4 separate regions of the Homo sapiens genome follow, and regions 1, 2 and 3 are each linked to region 4. Evidence: promoter capture Hi-C in 16 types of primary human blood cells and fetal thymus (Javierre and others, 2016). All regions are on one chromosome and are shown on one strand. Each heading gives the region's core, a stretch centred on a gene start or on the middle of the fragment in contact. The rest is flanking DNA. Distances are from core to core; before and after follow the strand shown.

Region 1 (6,164 bases), core at 3,222-5,721, 380 kb after region 4:
TCTGCTCCTGCACCTCCTTCCCCCAGCATTCCTCATCCTGGTGGCTTTAACAAGCCTCTCTCCCTTGAGCCTGTCAACACTGGGCTGTTAGTCTTCTGAGCGGGAGCCCGGCCCAGAGCTGAGTTGTTCATCCGTCCCCAGCCAGGGTTGATCTGAAGGGGGATAAGTCTCAGCCCCAGCGGTCACATAGGGGTCACATCACCAAATATGAGAATATTGTTTTAGGCCCCGCAATGCTTTCTCAGCTGTGTGGTGTCTGACAGCTCACCCAGGTTGCGCCCCTAGTCCCAGCCATTCTCTGCCAGTCCTGATGGGAAGCCCCAGGCGTGGGAGAAGACGCCCAGCAGCTGTTCCAAGTGGGCTCTGCTGCTCCAGGCCAGGCTTGGGAAGGTGCTGCCGAGCTCTCCTCTGGGCAAGCCCTGCCTTCTGCTACCCATTTGGATATTGTGTAGAAGATGACTTGGGAATCCCCAGCCCATGCCCTGGGCACCTCCTCTTTGGTGCCTCTACTGTTCCTCCTTCCACGGGTGAACCCAGGCATACTTATTCTCCCTGGAGACCTTTGCTTGGACTGCCCCGAGACCTTGTTGTCCAGGGGGACACCCATTAAGGTTTAGAGCCCAGCAATGCGCCTGGGGAAGTACCCTCCCTTGTAGGAAAGGACTGTGATGCCGCCCTGTGTCCCTGGCAGCCCACAGCCAGAGCAGGAGTCTGAGCCCGCTTCTGGCCACCAGAGCCAACTTTTCACCGCCCACTAAGAACAGGAAATGAGCGAGACCTGTGCCCCAACTGCAGCCCGCTACCTGCCGCACCACACGCCTCTGTCCCTGACCTGGGTTGGGGGTGTTCTCCAGGCTGTTTTCTGGCTTTTGTCTGGCCTGTGGAGTGGGGGTGGGAGGGAAGGGATGCAGACAGGACTGCTTCCCCGTCCCTGCCTCCTCCACTGCCATCGTGGGTGCCAGAGCAGCTCCTTGGCAGGCTCTTCCACTGTAAACAACACATTTCCTTCCCTGAGAGGAGGAAAGGGAGGGAAAAGAAAGCCAAATTTGTTGGGAAGCAAGTACAACGTGTCAACATGAAGAACAAACAATGCCCTGGACAAAGTGTGGATTGTCATACCAAAGGGAAGGAGTGGGCATTGTCAGCCACTCTTTGCAGACTCAGAAATATCATTGACCACAGACATCTGAATCGGCGTCAGATCTGCAGCAGCTGGGCCCCTGCCTGCAGTGCAGCCTGGCTTGCCCAGGGCAGGCACTGACACAAGATCACTTTTCGGGTTCCTTTCTGGAACTTGCTGGGGCCTGGGGAATTGGGAGGTTGTTGACAGTCCTCCCTCACCACCACCCAGCCAAGCTGGTTAAGGCAGCTGGTGTGAGCCCACTGGAGTAGCTGCTGGCCTAGATTCCAAGCCCCCCTCCCTGGCCAAAGGTGGGAACTGGGGGTAACCAAGATCCATTGCCCCCCTCGCAGCTCAGCCCGTTTGATGGTGGTGAAGCTACAGCCACCAACTCACCCCTGTTGGTTAAGCCTGTGCCCAAACCCCCTTTCCCTGTGGGCCTGAGTATTTCCCCAGCAGCCCCTCACCATGATCTCCTGGGGCACCACTTAAGAATACAAGTGCTGGCCAGGTGCGGTGGCTCACGCCTGTAATCAGTCCCAGCACTTTGGGAGGCTGAGGTGGGTGGATCATCTGAGGTCGGGAGTTCGAGACCAGCCTGACCAATGTGGAGAAACCCCATCTCTACTAAAAATACAAAATTGCCAGGCACGGTGGCTCACACCTGTAATCCTAGCACTTTGGGAGGCCGAGGCGGGCGGATCATGAGGTCAGGAGATCGAGACCATCCTGGCTAACACAGTAAAACCCCGTCTCTACTAAAAATACAAAAAATTAGCCGGGCATGGCGGCGGGCGCCTGTAGTCCCAGCTTGTTTGTCTGCTGTTAAACAGCAGACAAAACTCCAGCCCCTGGCCGGGCCCAGTGGCTCACGCCTGTAATCCCAACACTTTGGGAGGCTGAGGCAGGAGAATGGCATGAACCCAGGAGGCGGAGCTTGCAGTGAGCCAAGATCATGCTACTGCACTCCAGCCTGGGTGACAGAGTGAGACTCCGTCTCAGAAGAAAAAAAAAAAAAAAAAATTAGCTGGGCATGGTGGCACATGCCTGTAATCCCAGCTACTTGAGAGACTGAGGCAGGAGAATCACTTGAACCCAGGAGGCAGAGGTTGCGGTGAGTTGAGATCGTGCCATTGCACTCCAGCCTGGAAAACAAGAGCAAAACTCCGTCTCAAAAAAAAAAAAAAAAAAAAAAAAAGCATGGGCCTTGGCCTTACCCCAGAGTATTCTGATTCAGGAAGTGTGAATGGGGCCTAGCATCGCCATATTTTCAGAAGCTTCCCAGGGGAGTGTGCTGCTCAGATTGGTTGAGGGTCTTCCTCTCTTACTAGAGGGTCTCCTCCCTCTGAGGGCTGTTTGTGTACAAACATAAGTGTTTTCTGCCTGGCTCTTGGTAAGTGCAAATATCAGTGAGTGCTGTTATCAATATTATTTCTACTGCTACTTTCTGGGCTAGAGAACTGTCAAGATATATGTATTCACTAGGCTGGCCTGGGAATTTGCCCCACCGTCCCCACTTGGGAACCATCTCTGGGCATTGGTTTGCCTTCCTTTTCATTGGCCAGTCTGGTTTTTTAGCAGTGTCTGTGACTCTCAGGCTTCTAGCCCTCTTAAGTTGAGCAGGTGGCCAGGAAATGTGTGGCTGGTGGAGGTTGGGACTGCTGATTTTCCAGGTCATTGGTAAAAACCAAAGCTACCTTCACCTCCCTCATCAGAAGACAGAGAAGTTATCCCCATCTATATAGGCTTCTACAGTTGGGGTGTCTTCCCCAGACAGGAAAAGAGCATCCTCTATCACCATGAGATCAGATAGCCGTTCCTCTAAAGTCCAGAGCCTTGAGCCAGGCGTGGTGGCTCTTGCCTGTGATCCCAGCACTTTGGGAGGCCAAGGCGGATGGATCATTTGAGGTCAGGAGTTCAAGACCAGCCTGGCCAACATGGCAAAACCCCATCTCTACTAAAAATACAAAAATTAGCCGGACATGGTGATGGTCACCTGTAATCCCAGCTACTCGGGAGGCTGAGGCAGGAGAATCGCTTGAACCCAGGAGGCGGAGGTTGCAATGAGCCAAGATTGTACCACTGCACTCCAGCCTGGGCGATAGGGCAAGAGATTCCATCTAAAAAATAAAAAGAAAAGTCCAGAGCCTTGTCTCCTCTGGGTACCTACCCTTGGGCAAAGTGGGGATGATAGTCACCTCCCTAGCAGAACTGCCATAAGGATTCAATGAAATGACACTGATCAAGCTCTTAGCACAGCGCCTAGCACATGGTGGAGGTACTGCTTCTGCTATTGGCCATTTTTACTGTCATTTTTATCATCACCATTCCCATTATTATTCGTGACAGAGCCAAGCAGCTCTGTAGGGACCCAGTGAGCCTCAGGAGTGCCAAGCCCCAGAACTGCACAGGCTTTTCCCACAGTTGCATCACAAGGGCAAGTCTGTTACTCGGGAGAGCTCCCAGGAGCTGCCCCATCTTAGCTGTCTATCTCCAGTGTCCTGTTGATAAGATCTGTTAACATTCTCAGCTCCAGGTCTGAAATATACAAAGAACAGGGCCTGTTTGTTCAATCCAACCTTCTAAGGTTTAACTCCCAAAGGAAATTAAATTAGGTGCCTGGAGCTATGACAGTCTGTCGTGTTTCTTTGCAGAGAATGTCACCTTTAATATCATGTAGATCTCATGTATAATTTTTCCCCTTTAATTCTTTTAAAATAACGTGAAGTTTCCAGCGGGAACCAGCAAATCACCAAAAGCAAAAATGGAGGAGCAGCTAGGGTTTGTCCTCATTTTTGATCTGGCCATCCCCTCCCCCAACCGAGTCCAAAATAAGTCCACACACAGATGGTGCCGCGCATGGTCGTTGCTCTACTAAAAGCCACCATAACTCACCCTCTCCTTAGCACCAGTTCCAGACCTTTGTCAGGGGAACCAGCTTAGAATTGAACTCAGTGTTGGTGGCATTACGTTTCCTTGAAGAATAACTCTGGCGTCTCACTGGGTGGCCACAGCCTCTGTGAACCCTTGCCCCTCTTCCTGTCCTCCCTCCACCCCATCTCACCCCCAGCACTTGTTATAGTCCCACATCTATTTACTGATCTGGCAGAAAGCCCCTCCCTCCAAGTTATTTGTGAGTTAGAAATTAGCCCAGCCCGGCCCAGACTGGAGCCATTGTAATATAATTGGGTTTTAGGTATGCTTGTGTTTGTGCTAGCATTTGCAGAGATGGCAACGAGCCCCGGAAATGCCAAAAATATGAATGTAACTTTTGTATTGCTTGAGCAGACTGGTGATAACTGGTGGGGAAACTGAACTTTTGGGGAGGACACCCCTGGGATAAGAGAGTAGGAGGAGCAAGGGCTTAGGCTGTGAGAGGGAGTACGTGTATGGCTGGAGTCTGTGGGCAGAGTCGGCCAGTCCCACTTTGGGGAATTAGGAAGAACTGTAGGGGTGCACCTCCCCGAACTTTGCCAACTTTGCCTCTCCTGCTCTGTCTCTAAGCCTTGTCTCTGTCCTTGGTCGGGGCCCTAGCTCCTAGAACAGAGAGTTTGGTGAGGAGACGTGGACCAGTGGTCAGAGTTATTTTGTTCCTGCTATGGGCTTGGAGCCTGGGAAGGCTGGGTCTCTTGTCTCCTTGCCAGCCAAAAGAGGGTGCTTGTCCTGGTGGGAAATGAGCTGCCTTCATGCCTGTGTCCCTGGAAGGATGAATGGATGAGTTAGTGTCCTGGGGGTGAGAGTTCAGCATTCGGGAGCAGTACTCCAGGCACTAAATTGAGAGTCCAGACATGATCAGGATATGGTCTTAACCACTCACAAGCCGTGTGACACTGAGCAAATTACATAACCTGCCTGTGCCTGTTTCCTCCACTGTAAGGAGACATGGAGATGAGCAGTTAGCATGCCCGGTATGATGGCGGCTTTTCTGCTCACTTGGGGGTAGTGTTCTTATTTCTCACTCCCTCCTCCACCCCGTCCACTTCTTGCTTTAGAGACCTCCGTCCTGTGAGCTCCCGAGCCGTCCTGTGTGCTCACCTTCCTGTGTGCACTCCTTCCTTGTTATCTCACAGCGTGGAAACTTTTGTTCTTGGCAGCTGACAATTCCCAGGGGAAACCTGGTGGGTATTTTTTCAAGTTCTCAATTCTCCTCCTCACAGGGAGGGTTTCCCCTCAGAGGAGCCCCTCACCTGGATCTTCACCCCATTATCTTTCTTCCTTTGTGCCCTACCTGGGTGCTCAAGGTGTACGGGAGAAGACAGGTAGAGCTGTGGCCTGGGGGTACAGAAGGGTCTGCAGTGGAGGGAGGCTGGGAGGCCCTGGGGACAAGGACAGGGAGGGGGAGGGGTGAAGGAAGGGGTCACAGTTGGAAGAGGAAAGACACCCTCACCCAGGGCGTGGTGGGGTGCAGACCTGGGATCAGCTTGGCCTGGCTCTGCCTAGCAGCCTGACGAGAGGGGTGGGTGGGGAAGAATGGCCCAGCAGATTGAGGAAGGCCGGTTTTAGAGGGCCTGAGAGCCCTTGGACGTTGGTATTGGCTGTGAAAACTTCTTTAGCGGATGAAGTTGGTGTTTGTGCCAGCCAAATAGTGGGGCCAGACTCAGCATCAAAGCGAGAGGCAATGAGGTGTCAGACTAGAACAGCAACGTGGAATGCTGGGAGGTGACCTAGAGAAGAGGAACCTCAAAGAAGGCTGGAGGAACTCAGTGGCTGATCGAGCACAGCAGGTCAGGGGCTTGGGAGCTTCCAGCCTGGGAGGATGTGGCTACTGTGAATGGGAATGGAAGTTGGGAGTCCCTTTGTCATCTGTAAAATGAGACGTTGGTCCACAATCTCCAGATTCTCCAGCTCAGACATTCTTGGATGTACCTTCCAGGGCACTTCCAGATTCCAGATAGGGCTTGTATTCCAAATCCAAACAGTTTCCTTTTGTCCTTCTACGGTGAGGGGCAGAGGGGGACACTAGAGCCTGACTGGGCAGCAGCTTTAATTTAATTTTTTTTCCTTTTAATTTTTCTTTTCTGTTCCTTTTTCTTCCTGAGATTCC
Region 2 (5,843 bases), core at 1-2,500, 270 kb after region 4:
TAACAGCCATATCTTCAGAGATGGGCCAACATGTGATAATGAAGAAAAGGGATTATACAGCACTTTGTGAAAGCCCTTCCTAGATGCAGAAAAGTATAAAGAGAAACAGCACAGTGACTGGTACTTTCTTTTTTTTTTGAGACAGAGTTTTGCTCTGTCACCCAGGCTGGAGTGCAGTGGCACGATCTTGGCTTACTGCAACCTCTGTCTCCCGGTTTCAAGCGATTCTCGTGCCTCAGCCTCCCAAGTAGCTGATATTACAGGCACACGCCACCTTGCCCAGCTAATTTTTGTATTTTTAGTAGAGGCAGAGTTTCACCATGTTGGCCAGGCTGGTCTCGAACTCCTGACCTCAAGTGATCAACCCACCTCGGCCTCCCAAAGTGCTAGGATTACAGGCGTGAGCCAGTGCGACCAGCCATCAGTGACTGGTACTTTCTAAGATGTGGAGGGGTTTGCAAAAATAAGATCCTGAAATTCATTTATATTCCTCACATTTGGGATCCCACGAGGTTTCTAGCAGGATGACTGACCCAGGCTGTCTGGGTCTGTCTGTGGCCCAGGGTAGCTTGGGATTCATTTTGCAATAGCAGTGTGGCTCTGTGACTGGTGATCCCTGAGTAGTGGGGACATTCTAACTGAAAGCTGAGACTTTGGTGAGCAAGGATCAAAGCAGAGAGGCAGAACCTGTACTCATGGCCCACTTCAGTCCTGCAACTGCCCTGCAGAGAGAAGTTGGGTGTTCAAGGAATTAAGTTGAGGGATGCCCTGGGACCTTGGATAACATCATTTGCTAAGTGTAAAATGCGATTTTTTTCCACATACTCATCTGGCCTCTGAGTAGTAAGTAAACAGAATACTCTGTGCTTGGGGACAGGGTTAATTTTATCTGACTCTTGGTAGTTCCTTGCAGTTGGAGTTTGAAGGTTAAGCTTCTCTCCTTGATGTGACACCTTGTGGGAGACTTGGTGAGAAAGAGGGCTGCAGGGATGCTGCAGATGGAGCAGAGAATGGTAAACACAGTTTTGCAGCTTGGTGCAGGATGGACCTAGGCTGTAGCGGGGCAGGTTTGGAAATTTGCAGCAGGAAACTGGAGCAGGTATGGGGCCTGTAGTGGCTCTCATCTGCTCTGGAGTTCTGTAGCTCTAATGGGGTCTTTCCAGGGATCTCTACTCTTTTCTTTCTTCCCTTGCCCCACAAACTTTTCTAAATCCAACCTGTTGTAGAATTAGTCAAGTGATTTGTTGAAATCAGTTAAGGCAGACATGGAGAGTTGTCCCTCTTCCTCTGTTGAGATGCTAAGCTATTTGTAGCAACTTTCTTAAAAGTTCTATAAATAACTTAGCATTTCCTAACAGAGAATAGGGATTTCTATCCACAAAGGCAAATAATATCCTGGTGAAAGAGGACGAAACAAGACCAACTGGTTTTAAATAGTGTTTAAATTGCCTGGTGCTGGCACCATTGACTGGGATCACTTGTAACATGTCTTTTATTTGGTTGTTAGCTTTCCACCAGCATGCTATCCCAGTTGCAAAGTGTACTCCATCGATGTCCCAGGGGCAGGTGAAGCTTTTGCAGTCTGTGGAATGGTCAGATGTTTGAGGCAGCTCAAATGCCGTGTTTGTGGGCTAAATGCAGACTTCCTTCCACTGATGGTTTCTATTTGGTCTATTTCTCTAGCTACCAAAATTTCTTATCCATTTTTTTTTTTTTTTTTTTTTTTAGACAAAGTCTCACTCTGTCACCCAGGCTGGAGTGCAGTGGCGCAATCTTGGCTCCCTGCAACCTCTGCCTCTGTTGTCCAGGCGATTCTCCTGCCTCAGCCTCTCAAATAGCAAATAGCTGGGATTACAGGCACCTGCCACCACACCTGGCTAATTTTTTGTATCTTTAGTAGAGATGGGGTTTCACCATGTTGGCCAGGCTGGTCTCAAACTCCTGACCTCAAGTAATCCACCCACTTCGGCCTCCCAAAGTGCAGAGATTACAGGTGTGAGCCACCGTGCCCGGCCAAAACAGGATTTTTTTTAAAAAGCACTGATTACTAAAGGGAACTCTTATTGTATTAAATCCTCAGAGTGAGATAATAACTGAATCTCTTCCGCAACTCCTTCTCAGTTGAATGGTGGGGGAAATTTAATGTGGTCCTGAGAGGCCCCAAATCATTTACCATCCCAGCTCTACCTTTGATGTGGCAGTCTCTCCTGGGATCATTTTCTGGGTGCAGATGCTCACAGGGCGCAGTTTGACTCCTTCTGCAGTTCTCTGTGCAGAACTAAGTTAAGCCTAAGTTTGGCCTTTGTCACTTGCAATGATAAGAGACCAGCTTTGGTCTATGGGGTGCAGGCTGGTGTCAGCACAGACTAGAGGCTTTGGGTTTGTTTAGAACAAACTGTAATTAACATAGGGCACAATATAGTCTTTCAGGAATTAGCTGTCTAAGAGGCTGGAGTGGAGCAGAGCCTCTGCTTCCAGGAACAATGCCCATTGGGGATGCTTGGGATGGTCTTTCAACAGAGGCCAATTGATTGACTGATGTACCTCTTGCCTTGAAGCTTGGCATGTATACAGGCACCACAGAAGAGAGACAATCCCTGCCAATCTCATTTGGGATCGGTAATTTGAAACAGGAGAAAGCAAAATGGGTAACCATCCAGTCTGTTTTATTTCTAAAAGAGGCCCAGTCTTTCAGGGGTAGGAGAAGGGAGCCTCTTGGGCTTGCAGAGTTGGGCAGCCTTAGCTGTCCATCCCTTAGTCTCATTCTGGAGAGATGTGGCCTCTGTTTAGTTACCTTTCACCCAGGTTCCTCCAGGATGGGTCCTTTAGGTTTACAAAGTAGAGCGCCTTAGCTTGACATTGTCTGATTTCCAGGCTTACACTAACACCCCTGTGTTTTGTTTTTTGCAGGTTGGGTGGCCCAGACCCCTTGGACTATGTTAGCATGTACAGGAATGTGGGGAGCCCTTCTGCTAACATCCCCGAGCACTGGCACTACATCAGCTTCGGCCTGAGTGATCTCTATGGTGACAACAGAGTCCATGAGTGAGTATATGCCACCTGTTCTTTATCCAGAGCCTTATTCCTGAGGTCTTCCTGAGCAGGGGTGACAATGTCATAGTGCTGTGAGCATGGTACTTCTCCGTGGAACCTCTGCATTTCTGCCCTCTGACTATATCTACTCATGCCAAGGTGGTCCTCGTTAACACCTGATTCCTGCTTATCTAGTGCAGGAAAGTCTTGATGAGCAGGATTCCCAAATCAGGTTTTTCTAAGCTTGCCCTGGAGTTTGGGCTCATAGGACAGGAAGGTAGCATGGTTATGACTCAGAACTTGGGCTGATGCCTCTGTGTCTACTTCCTTTTATTCCCCTAGCTTATTATGAAACATTTTAAACATAAAGCAAAGTTGGAAGGATTTTATAGTGAACACTCATATACCCACAACCCAGATTCTACTGTTAACTTTATACTTGCTTTATCACAAATCTGTTCATCTCTTATCCTTTATCTATCTTACCTACTTCCTTTTAACCTGTATTTATTTATTTTTTTATCTTAGTCTGCTTCCGTTTGTTGCCCTATATGCTTTTTTTTGGAGATAGGGTCTCACTCTGTCATCCAGGCTAGAGTGCAGTGGTATGATCATGGTTCACTGCAGCCTCGACCTCCCTAGGCTCAGGTGATCCTCCAACCTCAGCCTCCCGAGTAGCTGGGACGACAGGCAAGCACCACCATGCCCAGCTAATTTTTGTAATTTTTTTGTAGAGACAGGGTTTCACCATGTTGCCCAGGCTGGTCTCAAACTCCTGGGCTTAAGCAGTTCTTCCACCTCAGCTTCCCAAAGTGTCGGGATTATGGGTGTGAGCCACTGTGCCCAACTCAGAGTTCATACTGTTAATGACTGTATTCTCTTGCCTTTTGAGCAATTATATCATGTACTCCAATAAGCTACCAACTATTTTTTTTAGAAACAGAGTCTCGCTTTGTTGCCCAGGCTGGAGTGCAGTGGGGTGATCTTGGCTCACTGCAAGCTCCACCTGCCGGGTTCACGCCATTCTCCTGTCTCAGCCTCCTGAGTACCTGGGACTATAGGCACCCACCACCACGCCCAGCTAATTTTTGTATTTTTAGTAGAGACGGGGTTTCACCATGTTAGCCAGGATGGTCTTGATCTCCTGACCTCGTGATCTGCCTGCCTCGGCCTCCCAAAGTGCTGGGATTACAGGCGTGACGACTGTGCCCGGCCTGCTACCATCTATATTTTAAAAAGATTTTTTTTGGCTGGGCACAGTGGCTCATGCCTGTAATCCCAGCACTTTGTGGGGCTGAGGCAGGTGGCTCACTTGAGGTCAGGAGTTCGAGACCAGCCCGGCCAACATGGTGAAACCTTGTCTCTACTAAAAATACAAAAAATTAGCCAGGCATGGTAGCATGTGCCTGTACTCCCAACTACCCCGGAGGCTGAGGCACGAGAATCACTTGAACCTGGGAGGCAGAGGTTGCAGTGAGCTGAGATCGTGCCACTGTGCTCCAGCCTGGGCAACAGAGTGAAACTGTGTCTTAAAAAAATAATAATTAGGCTGGGTGTGGTGGCTCACGCCTATAATCCCAGCACTTTGGGAGGTCGAGGCAGGCGGATCACCTGAGGTTGGGAGTTTGAGACAAGCCTGACCAACATGGAGAAACCCTGTCTCTACTAAAAATAATAAAATTAGCCGGGCGTGGTGGCACATGCCTGTAATCCCAGCTACTAGGGAGGCTGAGGCAGGATAATTGCTTGAACCTGGGAGGAGTAGGTTGCAGTGAGCCAAGATTGTGCCATTGTACTCCAGCCTGGGCAACAAGAGTGAAACTCCATCTCAAAAAAAAAAAAAAAAGTAATAATAATAATAATAATAATGAAAATAAACAAAGTTTTTTTTATTTATATTCTTTTGATGGAGAGTTTCTTTTCTTCAATTTAAATGTAATCTTTCTATGTTTGTATTCTGTCAATTAAAAATAAAATAAATAGTCTTCCCTCAACCTCATTAGCATGGTTAATCAAGAGCTGATTTTATTTGTATTGTCATATCCTCTTCTGGTTTTTGCCTTTTGTACTTTTTTGCCCCTTATACCATGTCTTTTCTATCTTGGTGGTGGCTGCTTAACCTGGGCAGGTTGAAAGAGTAGCAGGACTCGTCCTGTCCTGCCTTTGCATAGCGACCAATTCTGGAGATGATGATGGTATCATAAAGAAGATGATGATAGCCTTTTTTCCCTTTGTTTAGTACTTACTGTCTTCCGTGTCATTGTGTTAAATGCTTTACAATCTTATCAGGGTCTCGTTATTCCTATTTTATAGATAAGAAAAATGAGTCTCTTGAGGGGTTAAATGAATTGCTAAAGTTACAGATCTAGGGGTAAAAGAGCTGGGATTGAATTGGGCTGTTTGAGTCCAAAGTTTGAGCTTTTTTGTTTTGTTTTTTGAGACAGGGTCACGCTCTGTCACCCAGGCAGGAGTGTAGTGGCTCAGTCATGGCTCACTGCAGCCTCAACCTCCTGGGCTCAAGCAATTATCCCACCTTAACCTGCCAAGGAGCTGGGACTACAGGCATGCACCACCACACCTGGCTAATTTTTCAAATTTTCTGTAGAGTTGAGGTCTCACTATGTTGCCCAGGCTGGTCTCAGATGCCTGGGCTGAAGCGATCTTCCTGCCTTGGCCTCCCAGAGTGTTGGGATTACAGGCGTGAACCACTGTATTCAGCCTCAGAGTTTGAGCTTTTAACCACTGGGCTATTCCACCTCTCTGAACACAGGCCTAACCCAACTTCCTCTTCTCTCTTGTTAAGCTCAGAG
Region 3 (6,610 bases), core at 1-2,500, 360 kb after region 4:
ATTGCTGGGAGCCCACTGGGCCACTGGGCAACTTAGTGGTGTCGTTGCAGACACAGAGCAGATCCGGGAGACCCTGAGGAGAGGACTCGAGATCAACAGCAAACCTGTCCTTCCACCAATCAACCCTCAGCGGCAGAATGGCCTCGCCCACGACCGGGCCCCGTAAGTTCCCCAGTGTCCCTGGGCTGGAACAAGAGGACGACTTTTTTCTGAAGGGCCTGTCCCTGTGGATTGCATGAGAGAGAACAATGCACATAGCCCTTGCTGGATGGGCCCAGGATCTCTAGGCTTAAGGGCAGGCATGGTCTGGGGCACACAGATCTATCTGTGGGTCATAGGAGAGGGCCTCAGAGGGGACCCAGCAGACCGTGAATATTAACATCAGTAAATATTTACATGAGCCGTGTGAACAGACAGGAGGCCAGGTTGGGGAGAAATCTGACTTGGGGCCTCCCAGCCTTGTGGGAGCCCATTGTGCTGAGCACGGTTCCCTCCTTATCTCAGTCTTGGCCAGAGTTGCCCTTCCTTCCTTCCTGGAGCCTGGTCTCCGGCTGATAGCTGCAACCCTGGGGGCCTCCCTCTCTGGCCAGCCCCATACTGGATGCCTGTGGCTGAGGCCCTTCTTCCTGCCTCTCTTCCCTGGGGCCCAGGGAAGGGAAAGGAAGTCTTTTGCAGGCCTCTGCTGCCTGTCCAGGGGCCCCTGTAGCCCTCCGGAGAGACTGTGGCCACCCTAGAGGTCAGATCCGCTTCCTGCCAACCTCTCTTCCTCTGATAGAGGGGATGAGTGATAGGCAGGGCTGAAGCTGGGCACCCCCCTCTGCCCTTAGTCCCAGGGCAGCTCTAGGGAATAGCTGCTGGCAGGAGATACCTGGGGGCTGGCAGCCCAAAGCAGGAACCTTGCCTGCCAGGGAGGAAATTGCTGTGCCTTGGGCTGAAAGGGAGGTTGATCATCCTGCAAGACCAGGGTGATCTAGCCTTCTTCTATGAAGTCTTTATTACACATTTGCTGTCTGACAAGCTCGGACCTAGGGGGCCATCTGGGGTGCACAGGCTCTTCCTTTGGGAGAACATGAGTGAAACAGTTACCTTTTAATGGTGTGCATCTGGCTGTCGATGTGATTTGTTGGAAATGGCTGCTTCTCTGGATTCTAGCTCTAGTTGCTGATCGTGTTTCCCAGAAGTAGTAATGCTTCAGTGCACTACAGAAAAGACAGGTCCACAGGATCTGGGGTAGTTAGGGAGGGCATCTTGGAGGAGGAAGAACATAGCATCGACCTTGAGGGCACCTTAGAATTTTAATAAGCAGGGGAAGGAACTCAAGAGGATAGCACAGGGGAGGCCTGGCTGGTTAAAGTTGAGGCTGCCTGCTGGGACCTGACTGGAACTAGAGTTACTCTGGGAACAGGGCTGTACTGAGAGTTGAGCTCTTTGGCAAAAGCCTGGAGAAGCCTCCACCGCCACCTCAGAGCAGCTTTTAACTCCGGCCTGTAGGTTTCTCCAGCCAGCTGCCCTGAAGTAGCTGGCTGGAGGCATCCTGATCATCCCCTGGCAGCAGCAGATGGCCACACCAGGTCATACGACATATGGAAGCTCTCTACCTGTGAGTCTGGACCCTGTCCCGGGTCTACACTCCTTCCCATTCCCTGAGCTTGGCTTCTCGCTTTGGGCCTCCTTGGCACTGTTGGCAGGCCAGAGGTACTGGAAGGCCTATAACATGGACACAGTCTCAGTCCAGATGGCTCTCTGCCTCTGGAAGCCTGGGGTTTCTAGGCAGAAGGGCACAAGCTCCTGCAGAGATACAACCTTCTTGCCCCGCTTGTGTATCTGGAACAGGCCTGAGATCTCACTCCCTGGCTTGGGGGCACTTCCAGCTACTGCACCCCTGGACATTGCAATGGGGCACAAGGCTCTGTGCTCCTAGATATACACATAAGCCGAGACTCTCAGCCTACACCCTAACTGGGCAGTCGGGTATTGGTTCTGGCCCAAGGGTTCTCTGTAAACATAAGGCAGAGAGGCTGCAGCTTCTACCCTTTGGCTTGAGTTGGCTGAGATACAGAGAGATGGGTGAGAATAGATTCGAGGTGCCGGGGTTGTCTCCCCTTCCTGAAGGTTTAGTGCCCAGTAAGGTCTCTAAAGCACCAGGACCTGTAGTCTGAGGGGAATAGAATGTTTCCTCTGAGGCTGTCAGTATTGGTTACCAATTTGTTAGCAATTGGTTGAGAAATGGTTTCTCCTCCTCCTTTGCCAAGAACATTCTCCAACACACCCCTCAAGCCTGTCAGACTCAAGTTTCCTGTTATCTCAGGATCGATGATGATGGACTCAGTTCAGATCAGTGAGCGTGACGGTAATATCTGTGCTGCCCACTCTGGGACCTGACCCCATTTCACATACACCACATGGATTGCAACTGAGAAAGCTGACCCAAAATGTGCTGGCACCAGTGTTTGCTCCTCTCCCTGTTGGGGGGCAGCCAGCGTGGGCCATATTTTGTCTGCGGGTCTGATTTCCCCTTAGTCAGGACTTCTGGGCCAGGGAGCTCTTATGCATGGGTCTTCGCGGGTTTGTCTGTGGTCTAAGGAAGATACAGAGCTAAATCAGAGGCTCAGAGCAGCTGATCAAGCCTGGGCAATAGCAGCCGGGTGCCGGCCTACTTGGGGGTGTCAAGCACTTGCTCTTTTCACACTTCAGCAGCAGCTAAAACCTTATTAGTGCTCATTCTGTGCTAGGTAATGTGCCAGCTACTATGTGCTGCCATTCATTTATCTTATCCTCATAGCCATCCTGTGGTCGATAATCTTACATATTCCCCTTTAATGGATGAGGTACAGAGAGGCTAATAAGTATCTTTTCCAAGGTTGGAAAGGGGTAGAGCTTAGTTACAGCCATCTATCAGCCATTAAAATGGATGTAATCTTCCTTACCCCATTCTCAGGGACCCCATGGGGGACACATCAGACTGTGTCTCTGAGAAAATAATGACCTTTACTGGTAGAATTCATCTAACTAGTTGCAGCATGAATCAGGACCTCTCACATGGCACCAAGGACAAGGCCAAAGCCTCATATTAGAAGCTTATTGGGCTTATTTAACTAAACTCTAGGGGAGTTAAATAACTCCTATGAGATGCCATGAGCCTTGATGATTCCAAATCCCAGAAATAACAAGCTATGTCATAATTGGCTCATTTATACCAAAATTATTTTGTGACACAAGGCCTTACTTTCTTCATGTGCAGAAACTAAAACAACCCTCTCTCTGGTCCCTCTACCACCTCAGGGCTAGGGGATTTCTTTCCATTTTGAGGGTCTATTTCTTCCTTTCCAGAAAGGCAGGCCCCCTGGGTAACCCGCTCCTCTCCTACTCTTCATTGCCAGCCCTCCTCCCACTGCCTTCCCGGAAGGAGAGTCCTTGGCCCTCTTTGGGGCTTCTTCAGCATTTCACAACCCTTGCATTCCAGCCATGAAATCTGTATCTGGCTTTTCCCAAGATGATCAGTTGAGAAAAGCCTCCTTCAGCTTGCTGGCGCCTCCCTTCCCACTGCCTGCTCGGGTGAGTTTGGGAAGGATGGGAAGCAGTTCCTTTGTGCCACATGAGGACAGCCTGGCTTAAAGACTGTGCCTGCCAATATCTGTAGAGATTTGAGGAGGGAAAAGTTCCTGGGCATCCTCTCTGTCTGAGGTCACCTGGTCAGACATGGTCTACGGAGTCTGGTCTCTCTACAGTGCACAGAAGATACGTGTGGTCAGGTGAATTGTGTGTAGAGGTTTTCTTTTATTTATTTCTTTTTTTTAGACACAGGGTCTCCTTCTGTCACCCAGGCTGGAATGTGGTGGCAAGATCATAGCTCACTGCAGCCTCGAGCTCCTGGCCTCAAGTGATCCTCCTACCTTGGCCTCCCAAAATGCTGGGACTACAGGCATGAGCCACCACACCTGGCCTGTATTTCTCTAAACTGTTGCTCAGATGCTGGGAACCTGCACCAGTATTCTAGGGCCACCTCCTCCCTCAGCCAGTGACTTACCACCTGAGGCTGGGAACTCTTAGGAAGCTCTCTGAGTTGTGTGCCCTCCCAGAGAGGGACAGGGCACATGCAGGTGTGCACACTTATGTTAGAGGGGAAAAGTTCCTGACTATGGGAGAAGCACTTTGTAGTTGAGGCACCTCTAAAAAGCGAACTCACCATCACTGCTGAGTTTCTCAGTCTTCTAGAATCACACCAGCAGCTTTTAAGACCTTTAAAAAATTTTTTTTGCCTTAATTTCATGGAGAATTAAGATTCTGTACCATGAATTCCTCTGCTGTAACATTCACATTTGCAACACCTCCCCAACATACACACACACACATATACATAGATTTCTCTCTACTCTTAGGAGTGTCTCTGCACTTGTCTGTTTGGCCTTTGATTGGGGTGACTTTGCTCCCTCTAATTCCCATCTTGAATACCTTGTAACCTGGCCAGGGAGTCATCCTTTAGAGAAAATTGTGTTTTGTTTTGCTCAGCTTGTGAGGTCCATGAAGATTAATTAGAGGAAGAAAATATCTTGTTTGCATCCAACTTACCAGTGAATTGGGGTGAAGGAAGGTGAGTTTCCATCTGGGGAAACAGCTGGGCTGTGGCTGGTGCCGCTCGCACGAAGGGCAGTGTTGGGTAACCCTGCTTCAAGGGGTCTCTCCTGTCAGCGCAGTGGCCAGCCTGGAGCCCTCTCTGTCACGTTGGCTTCCCTCACACTCCCACGCTGGGGAAGTACAGTTGCTTGCACTGGAAAGAAAGCCCAGAAAGAAACAGCCCTTCTCTTAGGGCCCCAGCCAGACTCTGCAGGGCTGATGAGAGGAACAGCCCAGGCCTCTCTGCTCCCTGCGTCCTGGACAGCAGGCTCCTTTTTGCCTCCCTCACTGTGATCCATGTTGTCATGCCAAGTGCCTTTACAGGCCTTTCTCAGAAATACATATTTGAAAGGGCAGAGCAAGGGGCTCCACAGCAAGTCTGGCATGGGTAAATTTCTGTTTTAACTCCGTTCTTTGCTCCGCTTCCCCAAAGAGATGAAGTCACGGCCATTGTTAACACCTCAACTTCAGAATTCCTTGCTGGTGCTTGAATTCTCAGTCCAAACGCTGCATCCCCCTCCCTCGAGTTGCACAATCAGGGGTATTTTTATCGCCCATCCTTGATCCTCGGTGTCACCCAACACTTCAGCAGTGAGTCACTTCTCCAGGGAAGGGAAAAGGAAGGCTCAAAGGTAAGAGCTAGAGAAAGGAAATGACTCAGTGTCTCAGAAAAAGGAAAGCTGGGGTTCTGGCTAGAGTAAGCTCATTCAGGAGAGTAGGGGTCCTAATCTCCCACCCAAGTCAGAGGGTAGGGCTGGGGATGGCGGCCCCTGGTGCCCAGAGGAGTTAATAGTTGACTAGGAAATCCCCTAACCTTGATGCAGATTTTACTCACCCTGACTTCTTTAGCCATACTCTGTCCCACCATTTCATGATTTCATGATCACATTTTACCTTTGGGATATTCCCGATGAAAATATTGCCTTTTTTTTTTTTTTTTTTTTTTTTAACACGAGGTGAAGTCTCACTCTGTCACCTAGACTGGAGTGCAGTGGCACAATCTCGGCTTACTGCAACCCCTGCCTCCTGTGTTCAAGCGATTCTCCTGAGTAGCTGGGATTATAAGCACACACCACCACGTCCAGCTAATTTTTGTATTTTTAGTACAGATGGGTTTTCACCATGTTGGTCAGGCTGGTCTCGAACTCCTGACCTTATGATCTGCCCGCCTCAGCCTCCCAAAGTGCTGGGATTACAGGCATGAGCCACTGTGCCCTGCCAAATATTGCATTTTTAAACTGGGTGTGGTGGCTCATACCTGTAATCCCAGCACTCTGGGAGGCTGAGGCAGAAAGAGCTCTTGAGTCCAGGAGTTCGAGACCAGCCTGGGCAACATGGCAAAACCCCATCTCTACAAAACATTAGCCAGGTGTGGTGGCACATGCCTGTAGTCCCAGCTACTCAGGAGGCTGAGGTGGGAGGATTGCCTGGGCCTGGGAGGTTGAGGCTGCAGTGAACCGTGATCACACCACTGCACTCCAGCCTGAGACCCTGTCTCAAAGCAAAAAAAGAAAATACTGCATTTTGTCATTTGGTTATTGGTGTTTACTATTCACCTTTTGTGGCCTTTTACTCCTATATTGTCCTTATAAGAAAATTTGTCAGAATAACCAGGTTATACAGCCTTGTGCTTAATAAGAACTTCAGAGGTGAGCTGGTCCCCTCTCCCTCGATCCCACAGCCACACCCTTTTCCAGTTCTGCCTTAAAGGGAGACCTGCAGGTGGTTCTTTCTCTGGAAAGTTCAGAGCTTTCGTCAGCAATCAGAAAGCAAAAGGAAGAATCTCCCAGGCAAGGGGCAGAAGCCAGAGGTTGGGCTGGGCTCAGCAGGCCAAATCCACTTCACTTGTGAATAGTTGCCAAGCTTGATGCCCTGGTTCCTGTTCCTGGGCATCCCCAAGGAGAAGGCCCCAAGTCGTGTGTCCACTGCAGACGTCATGACTCACAGGACTGGGATTGTGGCTAAAAGGAGTCTCAATGGTTCAGCTCCTCTCCTT
Region 4 (6,273 bases), core at 3,688-6,187:
AATGAAATATCCAGGACATATGAAGGTGGAGAGCAGATCCCAGGCCAGGGAGGCCACAGTGGGGAGGCCATGGTTTCCAAGAGACACAACCCCATGGCAATAAGTCAGCTGTCATGTGGACCCACTTAAGTCCTGAAGCCAGAGAGGTAGACCAGGGACATAGTGAGAGCCCACAATCGGTTGCAATAATAATGCCTGAGGCTGGAGGCATAACCTGGAACTCAAATAGGAGAAAACCTTTCTCATTCAGGGGCTAAATGGAGAGATGAGAGGAGCTGGAGTTGTGATGTTTTCATCTTATAAACATGAAACTGAAGTGAGGTCCTTAAGTGGACATGGCTGCATGTTCATTAGGGACGCTGAGCACCCAGACTCTATGGTTTGCTGAACTGCAGTGTGCAAATGGGAGCAAATCGAGACACATTTGCAGCAAAGATTTGAAGCACTCAAGTTATTAAGGGACGATTCGGGGATCAGAGAAATGACTCCACAGTCTTCCTGCTCTTCCTTGCTTCCTTCCTTCAGCAAGTATTAGGTGTTAAGAGGGATCCCAAGAACAGTAAGGCAGAGACCCTATCTTGTAGGAGTCTGCAGTGTAGGGAGGCAAACAGAGCACAGGATGGAAAGATGGACCGCATGGGTCTGACTCCCAGACTGTGGGAGATCAGAGAGAGGGAAGCCCATGGAAGGTGGTACCGAGTGTTGGGAGCTCAGAGAATATAGGCACGTGACTGAATTGGGAGTTCAAGAGGAAGAGAAGGGGTATGGCATTCTAAATAATCAGCAGTGTTGGGAATAAGCTGGCAGGCTGGGAGGGCAGTGGTGAGCCTAGGTTAGTCAGAGTCTCAGTGTAGGCCACGGGAGATCTGCAGAGAGAAACGAGTCAAACCGAGGGGGCCTCCAATGGGGGACAAGGGGCAGTGGTTCAGATTTGACAAAGTCTAGGCTACAGTATGTCCAGCTTTTTCATCAAAAACCGCTAAGATTCACACTGAGCAACAGCCCTGAATAAAGAAAAAAACCCTAAGACCAGTCAAAAACAACATCTACTAGAAAACAGAAGCATGACCTGAAACAGCTGCCACTAGTATGAAATTGTTTTGAGGTCACCAGCTTTATGTTAAAAATGCAAACAAATTTTTCGTTCTATTCCATACTTTAGTCATGGATTATAAAATATTTTAATATAAAAATAAAGCTTTTTTTAATATAAAACCCCCCAATCTTCAAGTGATATCACCACACCAGGAAGATGGGCCCTGTTTAGACTGTGTGTCATGCCTCCTCCACTCCCGTACTGCCCTCCTCCCCCGCCCACCCCACTATGAGAAGCAATGCACCAAGCAGTAGGGGTCACTGGAGGCTTGTATCCAGGGGTGTGACAAAAAACAGCATCTTTGTGACCTTTATTTGACCATGGTGAGCATAAAGGGTTGGGCAGGGAAGAAATAGGAAAGGAGAAACTATTAACTGAAAGGTGTAAAAAAGGCCCCGGGGCAGGACAATGGGAAAGGAGAGATAGAGTTTTGAAAGTTATTCCTCTCTGTCTTCCCCCAACTCTTACCCCACTGATGATCTTTTCCTTTTCCTCCCCATCATTCTTTTCATGAGTCCCTGGCAGTGGCCATGGACACCCTAGACACCCCAAAGCTCAGGACCTAATGGATCCTTCAGGTTAGTCTAGGAGGCATCATTTAGTGTGAATGGAGAAGAAAAGATTCTACTGGCCCCATCCTTCAGTCACCACAAGTCAGCTCTAGCCTGCTGCGTTTGCCCTCCCGTCCTGAACCTGAGTCCTGGGCCAATGTTCCCATCCCTGAGCAGGAGGCAGGCAGAGATATTTGGCCTGGTAGACAGGCTGAGCATTTGGGGAGCTCCCCAGAGTTCTCAGACAGCGGCAGGGGTAGTGGCCAGCATCTGAAGTCCACGATAGGGTGGCCCGTCTGTCATTAAGATCCCTCCTATGGCTGCATCAGGGATGAGATTAGGCTGCTCTAAGTCTCAGCCCCACTTTTCCAAACAAAGATTCTGCAGCTTGGGCATAATAATAGCAGTGCTTCTTATTTATATGATGCTCCTCCATTTGCAGAGGGCCTTCACAGACATAATTTCATTTAACTCGCACAACTGCCCTGCATGGCTGGAGTGCCTATCCCCATTACACCTCTAAGAAGGCAGGATGCAAGGTTACACAGTTTGAAGAGATTTGAAGAGATTCAAACCATCTAGTTCTGCTCTTTCCATGCCTCACTCCCTCCACCCTGTAGCCATTTGTGACTCTGACATGTGCTGATCCTTCCAAACCCTGAAGGATTCCATTTCTACTTCCTGCCTCTATCATCTCTCTGGAAATGAGCTCTGGAAGTATGCTGCCCACTGTGTGCCAAAGAACATTTTTCTATTCATCCTGAGCTTGCATCACTCCAGTTCTAAAAGGCCCCCTCATCTCCAGTTTCAAGATTTGGGGAGCAAGCAATTCTTCTGCATATCTAGGTCTTTTATTATGCTGTAGATTTCCATCCTGTCTCACCTTCCAGAGGACTAAACTTTGAAATTTGCCCTCACCAGCAACCCCTGGCTCCCCATTCTGCCAATCATTCTCTGACCCTACTCTAGGCCCATGACATTCTTCCTAAGAGCCAGTGACCAGGCATGCGTTCAGTTACAAGGCTTTATGCAAGGGTGGGAAAAGGTTCTGTCTTTTGTTTCCAATCACCTTCATTATGATACCACCTCTTTGGCCTTTTTGGCAAAAGCCAACTTTGAGCTAAAGTCTTCAGGGAACCATCTGTAATGCTTTCCCTGTTCCTTTCCTGACACAGAGTCCTTCATTTCACCTATAATTTCAGTGATTTTATGGGAGCACAGCAATGGGAGCACAAGCCCCTGAAAAGTGTATCAGAATGTGATGGGGATAATTGTGGTGTGTCTTTATATTGATCAAAATAGGGCAAATGAAAAACAAAAGTTGAGAATCCTAGCCAGTAATAAGCAAACTTTAGAACTGAGGAATGGACATGGGAGTATGGGGAATACGTATTGTATGTCACTCACAGGTGAAGGGTAAGAAAGGTTGAAACCACTGTTTAGATTACTCATTGCTAAATACAATGCCTTGCACTTGTCCTTGTGAAAACTCAGTCCCCAGCTGGGCTATCTTGCTCACTTATATGGACTCGTTCTCCCTGTTCTGTCCTCTTCAGCATAATTGAGCTGTGGTTAGAATTGGGGTCAGGGTGGATGGTCACTGTATGGGCCCAGCAGAGTCAGGGCTGTATCCCAGCTGCAGGGAAAGTAAACCCGGCTGTTAGGTAGGGCCAAGATATCCTTCCCAACCAGACTGAGAGGGCCAGATAGCCCCCTGTTGGACTCCAGAGTCTGGATTCCATGAGCCTCCTTCCCACCTCCGCTCAGCCACCAGGGTGGTGTTGGGACTGGTAGGGCTGAGGAAGAAAAAGGGAAACAGGACCACAGGATTTGCTTTGCTAATGGGGCTGTAGTTTTCTCTTCTGGCCTGGGCTCCTGCCCACTGTAGGGAAGGAGCCATTGGTCGCCTGATACTCCAGCAAGGAGTCTGGGGGGTGTCTGGTTAATTGTATTGGAATTAGGGGGCAACTGAGGCTGCCAGGGGCTTGTACCCAGCTCCTTCCTGTTTTCCCATTGCCTTTTGTCACCTATTCCTTCCTTTCCTGGTCTTGATTCCCACTAGCAGGCTCCTCATTGGCCTTCTGTCCTCAAATTTGGATTCTGGAAGTACAGAGTGATGCTCTGATCTATTCTGAATTGAAGGGGGCATGTGTCCCAGCCCACCTCACCCCAAGGCCAGGTTGTAGCCTTTACTCTCGCTCCCTGCTCACAGCTTCGCAGCCCGAAGGAGCTGAAACAAGTTTGCAAAGTGTGAGCTGGGATTTGAGGTGACCCACCGCAGCCGACCCCATCGCACACGCAGCAGCTGGGCAGGCGCTGCTGGGTAGACGGACATGCCACCCAGCCAGGGACATTCTGTCCGCCACTGCCAGACACAACTCCCGCTCCGGAGAGACCCACTTCGCTACCCGGACATTCTGTCCGCTCCGAGCCCCATGCACCGCGGACATTCTGTCCGATTCTGAGGCGGCCTCAAGTCAGGACCCTTCTGGGCCCAGACACCCCAAGCCAGATCCACTATACCCGCCGCCTGGTCACTCTGATCCGCACAGCGGCCATCTGACTCAGTCGCGGCCGGGCTCTCACAACACAGCTCCTATTCCAACTGCGGAGCAGCTGGGAAGAGAAGCGTGTGCGACCAGGCGCACCCCGGCTCCCAGCCCCAGGAGTCTGAGCCTAGGCCGAGGGGCATCGGGCGCCGTCAACTGCCCCCACACTGGGGGCCGCCCCGCCAGCTCCCCCGCTGGCCAGGGCCTCTGTAACCCCTTTCGCTCCCTGGCCGCCTGCCCCGTGCCCTGGGATTCCAGGGCGCTTTCTGGTAATGGTTTCCAGACTCCCTACTCCCTGCCTCGCGAAGCCCCTATCCTGGTTTCAAGTCTCCGGCTTCGTTCCGGATCCTCTGAGTCTCCCCCTTCCCTATCCCCTGGTTCTTACCCTGAGTTTCCCTTTTCCCAAGTCCTGGCCCCAGGTCTGCAGTCCGCCCTCCCATTCTCGACCTGTTCCCAAGGCACCGGAGTTCAGCTGCCCCAGGTCTCGTTTTAGGGATTCCAAGGTCCAGCAATAGCTCCTCGGCCCCATGAGCCCCTGTCCTTAGAATGGTCAAACACTCACAGTGCGTCCTGCAACAGGCAGACTCCCAGTAGCGGCGGCTGCGGCGGCGATCTAGAGGGCAGGCAGGGGCCAGGGGCCGGGCACCCGGCCGGAGTGGGGGCCGCCCCCCTGCTCCCGGGCCGCCTCTCCGCTCGGGCGCTCCTGGACTCTCGGAGGGAGTGAGCCTCACCGCGTACTGCCACCCCCAGCCGGCGCCCATTCACTTTATGGCAGACCAGGGCGCCCCCAGCCCGCCGCGGCGAGCCGCGCGCGTCAGGCCCCGCCCCTTTCCAGCTGCCCTGCTGGGGCTCCGCCCTTTCCAGCTGTGGATCTCCAGGCCCCGCCTTTGAGGGAGGGGTCTGGCCGGCGAGACGCCAAGAACCCCGCCCTCTGGCCAATCAGAAGCGCTCTTCAGCAACTCGGCCGCGCCCCTCCCCACGTGGCAGAGACCGCGCTCCGGCTAGGACGCTTAGGCAGAGCCAAGTGGGCGAGAGTAGAGTGGTCCCGGTAGCCACGGGTAAAAGGGATCGGCTGGCAGCGAAGTGGGTTGGGCCGCTACCCCGAGGAAAGTGGATCGGCGCCAGGTGGGAAGGCGCACGGGGCCGCCGGGTCTCAGCGCTCAGACTTCTCTGCCACTCAAGTTTCGCCGATTTTCTCCACTTGTCGCTGTCCGTCTCTCCTCCCTTTTGTCTCTGTTCCAATCCTCCCACGTCTCGCCTTTCTTTCCTCTTCTTTCTCCTCAGCCGCTTCGCTCCTGCTGTTTACCATTCTCCTTCCTCTGCCACTTTAAAAGACTCATTTCTCTTTCTCTCTGCTCCTCTTTCCTCATATCTTTCCTCTTCTTCATTTCCCCCTTCTTCTCCAAGGAAGGTGACTTCGTGGAGACAGCAGGGTTTGGAATGATACAAACCAAAGTAGTATTCCAACGCTGCCACGAACTGCACCATCACTGAGTGAACTTGGACGAGTAACTATCATCTCCCTCCCCGCGCAAAACAATTAAGAGGAGGTTCCTGCTGGATCTCAGGGCTTGGGCTGGGCACTCCAAAGGCATTGCCTTTCAGTCTGTACCCTTGTCTTGCTTAGGCTGTGCTCTCCCTCCTTCAGCAGGGCTGGTTTCCCGCTGGTGGTACCAGGTTAAGTCCTGTGGGCAAGGTGTGGCCTTGGTGCCTGCTGGTTAGGAATTTGCAAGGGACAGGACAGATGACCAAGGAACATCCTGGCAGACTGTGACTTCGGCCCTCTCTGACTTAGGCCTCAATTTCCAGGAAACAGGCTCCTTCTCTTCTCCCAGTTAGGCTATGTTGCTTGGGTGCTCCGAAGAGCCTAAGCCCAGGCCAAACACTGTGGCTCATGCCTGTAATCCCAGCACTTTGGGAGGCCGAGGCGGGCGGATCACAAGGTCAGGAGATTGAGACCACCCTGGCTAACACGGTGAAACCCCATCTCTACTAAAAAATACAAAAAATTAGCCGGGCTTGGTGGCGGGTGCCTGTAGTCTCAGCTACTGGGGAGGCTGAGGAAGAAGAATGGCGT

The links. Contacts are between HindIII fragments. The CHiCAGO score rates a contact against its expected background, and 5 or more counts as called.
Region 1: a fragment that was not itself captured here is called in contact with the fragment with the promoter of PITX3 in region 4 in 1 of 17 cell types (activated CD4 T cells); the score reaches 5.2 in activated CD4 T cells.
Region 2: a fragment that was not itself captured here is called in contact with the fragment with the promoter of PITX3 in region 4 in 1 of 17 cell types (activated CD4 T cells); the score reaches 6.9 in activated CD4 T cells.
Region 3: a fragment that was not itself captured here is called in contact with the fragment with the promoter of PITX3 in region 4 in 7 of 17 cell types (erythroblasts, activated CD4 T cells, total CD4 T cells and 4 more); the score reaches 7.7 in erythroblasts.

Annotation. Positions count from the first base shown.
Region 1 is chr10:102,620,699-102,626,862 of GRCh38, forward strand. The region is part of intron 10 of SUFU (SUFU negative regulator of hedgehog signaling); the gene reads left to right. Among named protein-coding and RNA genes, the nearest start is that of TRIM8-DT, 19 kb to the right of the region's middle. The HindIII fragment of the contact is 4,153 bases long and covers 2,396-6,164 here.
Region 2 is chr10:102,506,259-102,512,101 of GRCh38, forward strand. SUFU (SUFU negative regulator of hedgehog signaling) reads left to right here. Exons shown (of 12, transcript NM_016169.4): 2 at 2,911-3,045. Among named protein-coding and RNA genes, the nearest start is that of SUFU, 5.2 kb to the left of the region's middle. The HindIII fragment of the contact is 640 bases long and covers 931-1,570 here.
Region 3 is chr10:102,599,383-102,605,992 of GRCh38, forward strand. SUFU (SUFU negative regulator of hedgehog signaling) reads left to right here. Exons shown (of 12, transcript NM_016169.4): 8 at 51-162. Among named protein-coding and RNA genes, the nearest start is that of TRIM8-DT, 41 kb to the right of the region's middle. RefSeq lists enhancers at 370-1,120, 4,338-5,537. The HindIII fragment of the contact is 3,650 bases long and covers 1-3,075 here.
Region 4 is chr10:102,236,575-102,242,847 of GRCh38, forward strand. PITX3 (paired like homeodomain 3) reads right to left here and starts at 4,938. Exons shown (of 4, transcript NM_005029.4): 1 at 4,759-4,938. It also overlaps a transcript of GBF1 not described here. RefSeq lists a silencer at 4,800-5,089. The HindIII fragment of the contact is 9,988 bases long and covers 1,197-6,273 here.